Regions from separate parts of the Homo sapiens genome. Here regions 1 and 2 are each linked to region 3. Evidence: promoter capture Hi-C in human tissues and cell types (Jung and others, 2019). All regions are on one chromosome and are shown on one strand. Each heading gives the region's core, a stretch centred on a gene start or on the middle of the fragment in contact. The rest is flanking DNA. Distances are from core to core; before and after follow the strand shown.

Region 1 (3,322 bases), core at 667-3,166, 37 kb after region 3:
GATTACATGCAGAAGTTCTTTGGGGGAGGTAGGAGAAGAAAGAAGCAAGATATAATTTTAAAAGGAGCTGCACTATTTCAGAAGGAAATTGCCACCTAAGGTGGGAGGCATTGCAGCTTCCTGGTGCTGGAAGCACTGAAGATTGCCCTGTCTCCTGTGTTGCCTGTAATCTCTGGCCTTGGTTCCTTCAGTCTGGCTACTTAGAGCTTTGTGATTCTTTAGCAGGGGCTGGGAGGTATTAGGAGCCCCTGGCCCTGTATTTCTGTGGCATTTTATTTGGCCTCTCTAGGGGGTGTATTTTCGAGCAGCAGCTGTGAGGTCACCCTGGGTGCAGCCAGATCCCCATACCTGCTAATTTAGCTCCTTTTGTGAGCTATTTTATTTCGGATGCCTTCTGTGGAAATTTTGTTCCAGACTGACTTGAAAGTGTTTTCAGCATCGATTCTCTCTTTGAACAGTATAACCAGGGTTTGCCACTTGTGGGGAAAAAAGGAGCTCATCTTGAGCTTTAAGAACAGTATGAGGTGGGCTTCCTGTGTCCAGCCCACCCCAGTGAGAATTATGCCATGTGTCTTCTCTCCAGGATAAACCGACTTTTCCATTTTACATAAAATCGAATCTCTTGAATAACAAAGAGTACTGTAGATACTGAACTGGCTTCTCGGGACTAGATGGACACCCTTAGTTTTTCAGGGCTAATAATTGTTTTTTTTCCATGATCAAGTTCCCACATGGACTTCGCCCACAGTGCTTGTTTTTCTGTGTTGTTTGAGGTAGTGGAGAGAGAGCACTTCCTCTTGGGGAAATGATTTTCATTTGCTCACTTAGCAAGCACTTTTGATCCTGTTTTGCTTGAAGCTTCATGTCAGACCTGCCCATCTGCATACATGCAAAAGAAGTAGGCTCTCTGGGTCCTTCTTCTGTGATGGTCATTAGTTTACAAATATTTCATTTGTCCTACCTCTGTGCACATGAAATCGAACTCCCTGCCCTGCTGAAATTAAGTATTGTCGTATGACTTACTTTGGCCAGTGGATTATGAGTGGGGGTGATCTGTTTTATCTCCTGGAAGAAGCCTCTAAGAGTCACGTGTCTGTTCACACTGCCCAGCAATTGTATTGTTTCCAATGCCAGAAGCTTTGCCTCCCCTCCAGTTTAAATCATCCTTTTGAATCAAACCCTCTTTAAATTATTCTTGTTTGCCTGGATCATTTATTTTCTGTTGGGATTTTGATTGATTCAGTCATCATAAAAACAGAACATGATCATTCAAGATGATTTAGAAAGTGGGGATGTAGAAATAAGTTTAAGAAAAAAAATCCATAGTTTTATACCCAAACATCCCTGATATTAACGTGGTCATTTTTTTTTTCCTTCTTGACTTTTCCTTGCTCAGTGCATTGTGCTTTAATTTGGTTGTGATCATTTGGTATGTACAATTTTAGGTGCTTTGTCATGAACATTATGTTTTACATGGTATTATTACACATCATAAGAGTCCTTTTTAATAACTGTATAATAAGTGATGCAGTTTAAGGAAAAAAATTCTAAATTTTAATATCATAAGAAATTATATTCTGCATAGCTGAAGTATATCCTGTGGTAGAAGAGGGGGTAAATCAAGAAAAACAAATTCAATGAACCTTTCTCCGGTGCCTCCCGTGTGCCAGGCTTGTGTTGGGTGCAAGATATGGAAGCAATTATGACAGAATCATCAAGTTCCCATGGGCTTAACACTGGTAAATGTTGATTCTATGTCTAATCCTCTTGGGACTAGGTTGGATTTGTTACCCACAAAATTTTTTAAAAATCTAATTTGACCAATAGAATTTCCCTCTTTTGAAAAATAATACACAAAATATTGCTCTTTTCCCTGGAGAGGATTCAAGCTTTTGCAATTTGGGGGAGATAGACTTTATAAAAAAAAGAGACAAAATCATGAATAGGAAAGAAATCACAACACATTATTTAATCTGAAAGATAAAAGTATCGTTTATATAGCAAACATACTACAAACATCCAGAAGATAACATACAATTATTATTATTTTATAAATTGTTTTAATTAACTGCCTGGCAAGCTCTGTAATCTTGTTTCTTTCTTCTAGTTTTTGGCTGAGTGCTTGTTGATCTACTCTTCATATGATGATGATTTTGTAATATTGTTTTCTATGGAGAGAATAGGAAGATGATTCATTCTCTTCTGGCAGTGGTTTTCCACATGGTCTGCACAGGAGAATATTTTGGGAACTTTTAAGAATCCTAATGTTCAGATGCTCCCTAGGTCCATTAAATCAGTATTGCTGGGGCCGGGTGCAGTGGCTCATGCCTGTAATCCCGGCACTTTGGGAGGCCAAGGTGGGTGGATCACCTGAGGGCAGGAGTTCGAGACCAGCCTGGCCAACATGGCAAAACCCTATCTCTACTAAAAATACAAAAATTTAGCTGGGTGTGGTGGCGGGCGCCTGTAATTCCAGCTACTCAGGATGCTGAGGCAGGAGAACTGCTTGAACCTGGGAGGCAGAGGTTGCAGTGAGCCAAGATTGCGCCACTGTACTCCAGCCTGGGCAACAGAGGGTGACTCTGTCTCAAAAAAAATAAAATAAAATAAAATAAAGGAATTGCTGAGACCCTGGCATCAGTCAGAGCCCCAGCTCTAGAATGGGTGATGGAAGTTTGATTTTTACTATTGATCATTTAGAAAAGTTTCCTTTAGCTTCACTGCTTGTTACTGGCATTGTCATATATGTTTTTAGGCTTGTTGTCAAATCTGGGAAGACCTCTCTCCAATTTCTTTCAGAAGTAAGCTGTGAGACTTCACGTTGTTTCAAGTTTTCTGTGCGGTAACTGATCTTAAATGTTCTTTGAATGGAAGACACTCATTAACCAATTTGTAATGTGTCCTCATTTTCTGTGTATTTTATGAGTTTTATGTTATTTTTCATTGAGATCAGTATTTTTATGTCAAAGGAGTAAGAAATTAAATTGCCTGAAGAAATGGGATTGGATGAGACCATTTTGCCGAAAGAAAAACATGAGCAAAGGCGAAGTCCAGCAGGCGAGTCCAGTGTGGGGAGGCAGCCAGGTGCCAGGTTTGCAGCTGTGTGGATGCCATTGAAAGGGGAGCCTGTGTGCAGGTGGGAAAGGGCTGTGTGCTGGCAGTTGTTTAGTAAGGGAGCAATATGTTCATGAAAGACAGTGTCATGCCATGTTGAAATTATTCCCTTCACACACGTAAAAGCGGTGTGAATCCCAGCTCTGCCAATATTACTAACCAGCAATGACCATACAGGGAAATAAAACATACAGATAGCCCTCTGCAC
Region 2 (3,439 bases), core at 847-3,346, 61 kb after region 3:
GTCCTGGGAGAGCCTGACACATAATAAGCTGTCAGAACACATGAGCTGTTTTTAAAATTATATTTATAATGGTTTGAAGCAAATACCTCAATTTGGAAGCTGGTTTTGATACTTTTAATAATCTAGTGGGCTTGAAATGTCGATAAATACACCCTTCTGTAAATGTATTTACAGGCAACAATATTTATCAAAGTTAGGTTTTAGATTGCCCCAGAGCTGAAGTTATAAAATAATTTTAATGCAAATACTTGTGTTTTCTATGCTAGGACTTATGAAAAATGACAGTGTTTTGGGTAAGCCACTTAGCAGTACAGCCTTGTCCAACACTCCCTGAGAACTCATCAGCATTCAGTAATCCTGTCAGAATGGAAAAATCTTTTTGCTTTAAATGAGATTTTGCTTGATTGGTATTTTTATTTTGGAAATCCAATTTTAGCTTTTTGTCTCACTTGATAATGAGTTTTTTGATAAATATTGTCACCCTTTATTGTAAGCATAAAGAAGAGGTAACAAATGGCTTTCTGTAATGTGATACTGTAATAAATAAAATCAGATGCCAGGAGTCCGCTCGTCACTGGCATAAATAAATGCATTCCTTCCTATTGGGCAGATGGGAACAGGATGTTGATTCTGAGTTGGTAAAACTTTGATTCCCATTCCTTTGAAAAATCCAACGAATGGCTTTATTTTCACATCTAATGTTTCTTCTGTAGTCTGAAACAAATGTTACTACGTTATTTGATTTAGAGTGACTATGTTAGATAACTCTACCAGTTAATTTGGTTGGGTTTTACTTTGCTGTGGCTGAGTGCTCTGCACTTGCTGTGGTTGGTGGTTGGGAAAGTGGGCCCTGGGCGATCACTTCCTCTCTGTGGGTTTCCACTGGGATGGCAGAAACTGCTTATCATGCCACAGGCTGGAAAATAAATCCTGGAAGCACCATATAGCTCAAGAGACAATTTGAAAATAACAATCAGAGTCATGAATAGAAGCCGATGCACAAATTCAGTTAACAAGCAGAGGAACTAATCTATCAGACATTGGGTGGAAAGCCTATTTCTGAGTTTATTTCACAGCACATTATGACATTTCTTTAAATCACAACTTGTCCCCATGTAAAAGATATAATCTACATATTCCTGTGGGAAATAATCAGAGACAAAGCTTTACTGTATTTGTCGTTTCTGAAGTTGACCTCATTCCCCCCCCAAAATATTTTTCATGTTGTGAAATGTAATTTGCTTGACCCCAACAAAATTGGAATAAAAACCATCACAATTACCGGTGGTTAAGAAAGTGGAATTGAGTTTGGGAGAATTGAGGCATAAAGAAAATTTTTTTTTTTTTTTTTTCTATTCAGAAAATATATTGAAAGAAATGCAGAGAGACTTCAAAATTCCATAGTAGTTTGCACCTAATTCTGGTTGATAGGGTTTTAGTGTTTGGAGTGGTAAGCAGCTGTGGGGTTTGTGGTGGCCTGCCCTCTTGCAGGCTGAGAGGGAACTGGGGCCTGTGAAGAAGAGGTGACCTGTTTAGTGTCACATAGCTGATTGGTGGCAGGGTTAGATCTGCATCCTGGCCCATATACTTGGGTGCTTTTTGCCAACGCGCCTTTTTCCTTTCTAAAACTTTTACTTTCAGGAAGCCCATAGATTAAAAAAAAAATCTGTGTATTGTGTTCTCTCAATTTCTAGGTTCACATTTGCCTGAGTTTAATAAGAGCCTGGCTGGGTACGGTAGCTCACGCTTGTAATCCCAGCACTTTGGGAGGCTGAGGCGGGTGGATCACCTGAGGTCAGTAGTTCCAGACCAGTCTGGCCAACATGGTGAAACCCCGTCTCTACTAAAAATACAAAAATTAGCCGGACATGGTGGCGCATGACTGTAATCCCAGCTACTCGGGAGGCTGAGGCAGGAGAATCACTTGAACCTGGGAGGCAGAGTTTGCAGTGAGCTGAGATTGCGCCACTGCACTCGAGCCTCAGCAACAAAAGCGAAACTCCGTCTCAAAAAAGAAAAAAAAAAAAAAAAAAAAAAAAAAAAGAAGAGCCTTACTTCCTTTCATTTGAAGCAAAGTGGAATTACCTTGACTGTGGAATCAAAAAGCAGGAATCATCTGCTTTTTCCATGGCATGCATTCCGGTGCATTTGTGATGGTCTTTTTCAATGAGACACAGCTGTCCCAGGTCAAGCTTGAAGGCAGGGTAATTGTCATGAGCACAAGCACATGTTGTTTTCTATCTCTTTGAGTGCAGGAAATAAGTACTCTTACAGAGTTGGGAAAACAGAGTGATCAGAGATTCAGGCTGATTGGGGAAAGCTGGAGCCCTAGAGGTTCTGTCGGAACATTTGGCGCACACTTGACAAACCCTTCAGGCTGTGCGCTGCCTCTGGTCATTGCTGCAGCCCCAGACTACAGGTAGGCAATGTTTATATAATTGAGTGAATAGTAGCCACTTCCTATGTGTGTTCACTTACTCTGTGCTAAGGCCTTAAGCCCTCCCCCATCCTCCCATCACCAATTTTAGAGGCATAGAAATGAAGTATTAGAGAGTCTGGGTCATTTGCCCAAGATCATGAGCTTAGAGTCCTGAGGTCTGGGTTTGAACCCAGGCTGTGCTTAGCATTGGCTATAGGAGAAAAGGACATTTGTCTCCCCAATCCCCAGAGCATACATAGGCCTTAGTGCAGCCCCTACCTCATCTTTCCCTTGCCTTCATGGCTGGCTGACATGTGAAATGGGCCATCCCATGGGGAAGTACTTTATGGTTTATGTGGGTTATTATCATACTCGATGGCATTGAATCCATTTGGGGACATGAGGTTCTTCAGTTCTTATCTCTTCTTGGTTTGCATTTCTTTGTTTTTTCTTTGATTCAGAGTAGTTAATGTGGGTGAAATGGAGGGAGGTTGCCTCTGGAACTGAAATTCTGGAGTTTTCTGGAGCAAACAATGGAATGTTGCAATGTTTATCTCTGTCAGCAACATTCTGAGGTGAGAGCCCCAACCATTTCTAGTATTAGCGAGGGTAATGACTTCTTAGTGACCAGGGACGTAGGCTAGGTAGGGAAGCCCTTACGGGAGGATTCATTTGGCGTTGTGTGACTACCCCAAAGGTCTGAGCCAAAGGTCCTGTGCCTTAGAAGTGGGAGGGGTTTGTGTATGTTTCCTGTAAGTTCTGTTCATAAATGCTGAAATTCTTCTGTTGACAGGATAGTAATGAACCCATTGGTTAGAAGGTTGAAGTAATGGAAAAACCTGTTTCAATACCATAAGTTGTGATTGTTGTACTTTTCAGATTGCAGTTCTTCTAAATGGCTTATAGAAGTTTCCAAGCTCTGCTTTGCCCTGACACATAAGCTCTTTAGGGTACAAAAAGAAATACTTACATCAGAATTGAACTTTTTTTTTCTGGCAGAAGAGGAGCTTTTGGAACACA
Region 3 (3,474 bases), core at 475-2,974:
GCCCGCGGGCGGGGCGCACCTGGCGCTCCTGGAGAGGGGCCTGTTCCTTGCGTTGCCCCCCAAGGTGGGAGCGCGACCTGCCAGAGCCCAGGGGAGCTCGGGTCTGCCCGCACTCGGGAAAAGCACTAAGAGCCTCTCGGTAGCAGTCCTTCTCCCTCGCTGCCAACTCTGAGATCAAGCCCAACATCTGCAGGGGTAACTTTTTCCAGGGACTACTGGAAAGGAGAGCCGGCCTGGCTCCTAGCCGGACACCACCTGGCGGAAGCTGGAGCCCGCCCTTACTTCCCTGCAACCTGAGGATGCTGAGGCCAAGGGCGGGTGACGGGGCAGAAAGCAAAGCCCTGGTTGCAGAAAGGCATGCAAATATGAACCCAGGTGTCTGGTGCGCCGGGAGCCCCGGCGACGTTAGGAGCGCACTCCTTGCTGGGGTCACCGGAGTTGCGCTTGGCCGGGCAAGGATGACTCAGCCTCACTCCGGTCGGTCTTTACCGCCAGCCTGCGCGAGGGCTCCACAAAGTTCCCAATCACACCCCATACCTCGCACGGGGGAGAGGGGTTCTGCAAGCTGGGTCCCGGGGTGGGGGCAGCGGCGAGAGAGGCGGGGAGAAGCCTGGTTCCCAGAACGCGCAGGGGCTTCTCCGGCTTCCTTTCTCCTCGCCCCTGAGGGCGGCGAGAAGGCGCCTCCTCCGGCGCTCACTGCCTCCTGCCCAGTGCGGTGGGCGCCGGAGTGGGGAGCAGGCAATCCCCCAGGCTCGGAGAAATCTTTTATCCCGAAATCCAGGGTGTCCCCCGGTCAGGATCGACTCGGCGCCGCGTTGGCTTCCTCGCTCAACCCTGACATCCCGGTCCCCACCAGTCACCGCAGCCGGGCGGACTCCGAAGGCAGCGGCCGCTGGGGAGCCCCGGGGCCTGGGTCGGGCGCGCAGGGGGCCGCTGCGCTGCGGCCGGATGCCGGGAGCCCCGCGCTGGTGCGCCCAAGCCGTGGTGGCAGCACCGCCCTCCGTGCTTTCCCCTGTCGGGCGCCGCGGCCGGAGGAGCAGCTGCGGGCGGTCACGCAGCGCTGCCCTAGCCAGAGCCCCGAGCTCCCACCCAGTCCCATCCCCAGCCCGATCCGCCCCGCGTGCGATCCCGCCTGCCGCCGCGAGCCTGTGCTCCTTTCTGAGATTTCTGCTTCTTCCCCAGCTCCCTCCCCGCAGGAGAATCGCGCGGCGGGGGCGGAGGGCGCGCCCCCTTTAGGTTCCGCGGCCCCCGACCCCGCCCGGCCCAGGGGCGGAGCGGGCATGCTACGCCCTCTCCTAGCAGCCGCCCGCAAAGTGCGGAGCGCCGCGCCCTGCCCTCGGCTTCCCTCCCGCGCCCCCAACCCCCACCCTGGCTAGGGTCGCCCGGCCCGGGGCCAGCCCCAGAGTCGCGCCCGCGGTGGCGGACTGCGGAGTTGTAAAGAACTCAGCGGCCGCAGTAGCCCGGGTGGGGCAGGGCGCGCTCCGCCGCGGCCAAGGACACTGGAGTTTCCGAGTCCCCGCCCGCGCGGCGCCTCCTGCCCCGCCGCCCTCCCGCCGCGGCCCGCCGGACTCCCCGGGGCCGCCGAGGCGGGGCCGGGCGGCTGCTGCTGCTAGAGGCGCGTCTCGCTGCCTCCTCCCCCGCCCGCCTCCCTCCCCACCTCTCCTCCCTCCCTCCCCACCTCTCCTCCCTCCCTCTCCTCTCCGCCCTCCCCGCCCCCCCCACCCGCTCCTTTTTCTGCTCCCCAAGTGAGCCGGGCGCGCGAGAGGCAGGCGGGGCGGCGCGGAGCGGAGCAGGCAGCCCCGCGCGCTCGCCCACCGCCCGCTCCGCGCAGCTCCCCGCGGCCGCTCTCGTCGCCGCCGCAGCGGGCGCGTCGGAGGGAGCCCAGCATGGCCGGGCCGGGCTCGCCGCGCCGCGCGTCCCGGGGGGCCTCGGCGCTTCTCGCTGCCGCGCTTCTCTACGCCGCGCTGGGGGACGTGGTGCGCTCGGAGCAGCAGATACCGCTCTCCGTGTAAGTGCCGGCTCCTGCGCCGCCCGGGGAGGGGACCTTGCCGCCTGCGACCCACTGTGCCCAAGTTTGGGCGCCTGCAGGTGCGGCTGGGCAGGACCCGCCGCGGGCGTCGGCCTCGCCGCTCGCACCTGCCTTTCGGGACCCGCGTCGGGCGGCGAGGCCGGGGTGGGATGCTCTGGCCCCTGCCCGCAGGTTGCCGAGTGAGATCTGGAGAGGCTCACCTCAAGTGACGGCACCAACTTTGGAGCCTGGTTACCGAATCCAACTTCCATGGGCCGCTGAATTTCCCCCCTCTTTGCTCTACTGCCGCCCCACTTCTTTTTTTGGGGGGGGGATGGGTGGATTTCTTCTGACTGCTATTTGCCAGGTGATGCCCAGTTTGGGGGGTCGAGTCCTCGGGCAGTGGTTCGAATGAAACTCAGTGGTCTTTTTAGAGAGCCTGGGAGACTTTGCGCATTCTTAACTCCGCGACCCCCCTCGGGCCCCCTCCCGCGCTGCGCTTTGCAGTTTTGGTGCTGGCAGTTTCTACCAAGCCGCTTTTTCTATCTTTTCTTCTTTTAAAACATGTTACATCGCACTGCTCCTTCAGCCATAGTCCCATGTGTGCGTGTGCGTGTGCGTGCGTGTTGACTGTGACACGGGTGTTACATATCTTCCTGTGCCCCTTCTCCCTGTAGGGTGAAGCTCTGGGCCTCGGCTTTTGGTGGGGAGATAAAATCCATTGCTGCTAAGTACTCCGGTTCCCAGCTTCTGCAAAAGGTAAGGTTTCTGTGGTGGCAGGAAGCGATGATTTTTCCGGCACAGAAAATGGAGGCAGATTTAGTTTTCCAAACAAACGTGAGCCCCGAGCAGCATCAGTTATCGGAGGACTCTCTGATCCCCGGGTTTCTTGGCATTGTACTATGCAGTGACTTCTTCCTACCAACCGGTTATTTTTAGATGACACTTGATTCTAACCACAAAGAAAAGCAGGATACTCACTCGCACTGTCCTGGCTGGGGCTCGGAAACTGAGTGTTTTTGCATGGCTCTCGTCTCCGTGTCGGTATTGCTGTTTCAGTGCCAGAGCAGATGCTCCTCGGGCCAAAAAATGCTAACTTCATCCAAGGGGCAGACTCAGTGCCTATTTTGTGATGCCTTTCACCTTGCGTTGGAGGCGTGGGGTTCAGTGTATCAGAGAAAGACGCTGCACTATTGTTTGTCATCCCTGCAGTTGTACAATCCCATTATTCCCCAATCATCTAGACCCAGGGCTAGGATGCATTACATCATTGCAGATAAGGAGAATGAATGTGGTTATCTTTCCACTCAGCTGCACTGCCGGGTAATAACCTATGAGAGTAGTCCACAAACTTAAGAAATGGGTCTGCATCCATGTAATTCTGGAGAGTAATGAGAATGGAGAATTGATTATTAGGTTCTTATCACAAGCTGCATCAATTTTAATTCAAATAGGCAGCATTTTAA

The links. The method cuts DNA at HindIII sites, captures the fragments that hold promoters and counts their contacts. A contact is called where the count stands out against the background at its distance.
Region 1: a contact is called between a fragment that was not itself captured here and the fragment with the promoter of CACNA2D3 in region 3, in 2 of the 25 tissues and cell types used here (hippocampus and neural progenitor cells).
Region 2: a contact is called between a fragment that was not itself captured here and the fragment with the promoter of CACNA2D3 in region 3, in 2 of the 25 tissues and cell types used here (neural progenitor cells and pancreas).

Annotation. Positions count from the first base shown.
Region 1 is chr3:54,157,911-54,161,232 of GRCh38, forward strand. The region is part of intron 2 of CACNA2D3 (calcium voltage-gated channel auxiliary subunit alpha2delta 3); the gene reads left to right. Among named protein-coding and RNA genes, the nearest start is that of CACNA2D3, 37 kb to the left of the region's middle. The HindIII fragment of the contact is 5,633 bases long and covers 1-3,322 here.
Region 2 is chr3:54,181,878-54,185,316 of GRCh38, forward strand. All of the region lies in intron 2 of CACNA2D3 (calcium voltage-gated channel auxiliary subunit alpha2delta 3), which reads left to right. Among named protein-coding and RNA genes, the nearest start is that of CACNA2D3, 61 kb to the left of the region's middle. The HindIII fragment of the contact is 5,314 bases long and covers 1-3,439 here.
Region 3 is chr3:54,120,828-54,124,301 of GRCh38, forward strand. CACNA2D3 (calcium voltage-gated channel auxiliary subunit alpha2delta 3) reads left to right here and starts at 1,725. Exons shown (of 38, transcript NM_018398.3): 1 at 1,725-2,008; 2 at 2,686-2,767. The coding sequence starts at 1,887. LOC124909381 (a long non-coding RNA gene) reads right to left here and starts at 2,615. Exons shown (of 2, transcript XR_007095914.1): 1 at 2,230-2,615. RefSeq lists a silencer at 482-531. The HindIII fragment of the contact is 8,759 bases long and covers 1-3,474 here.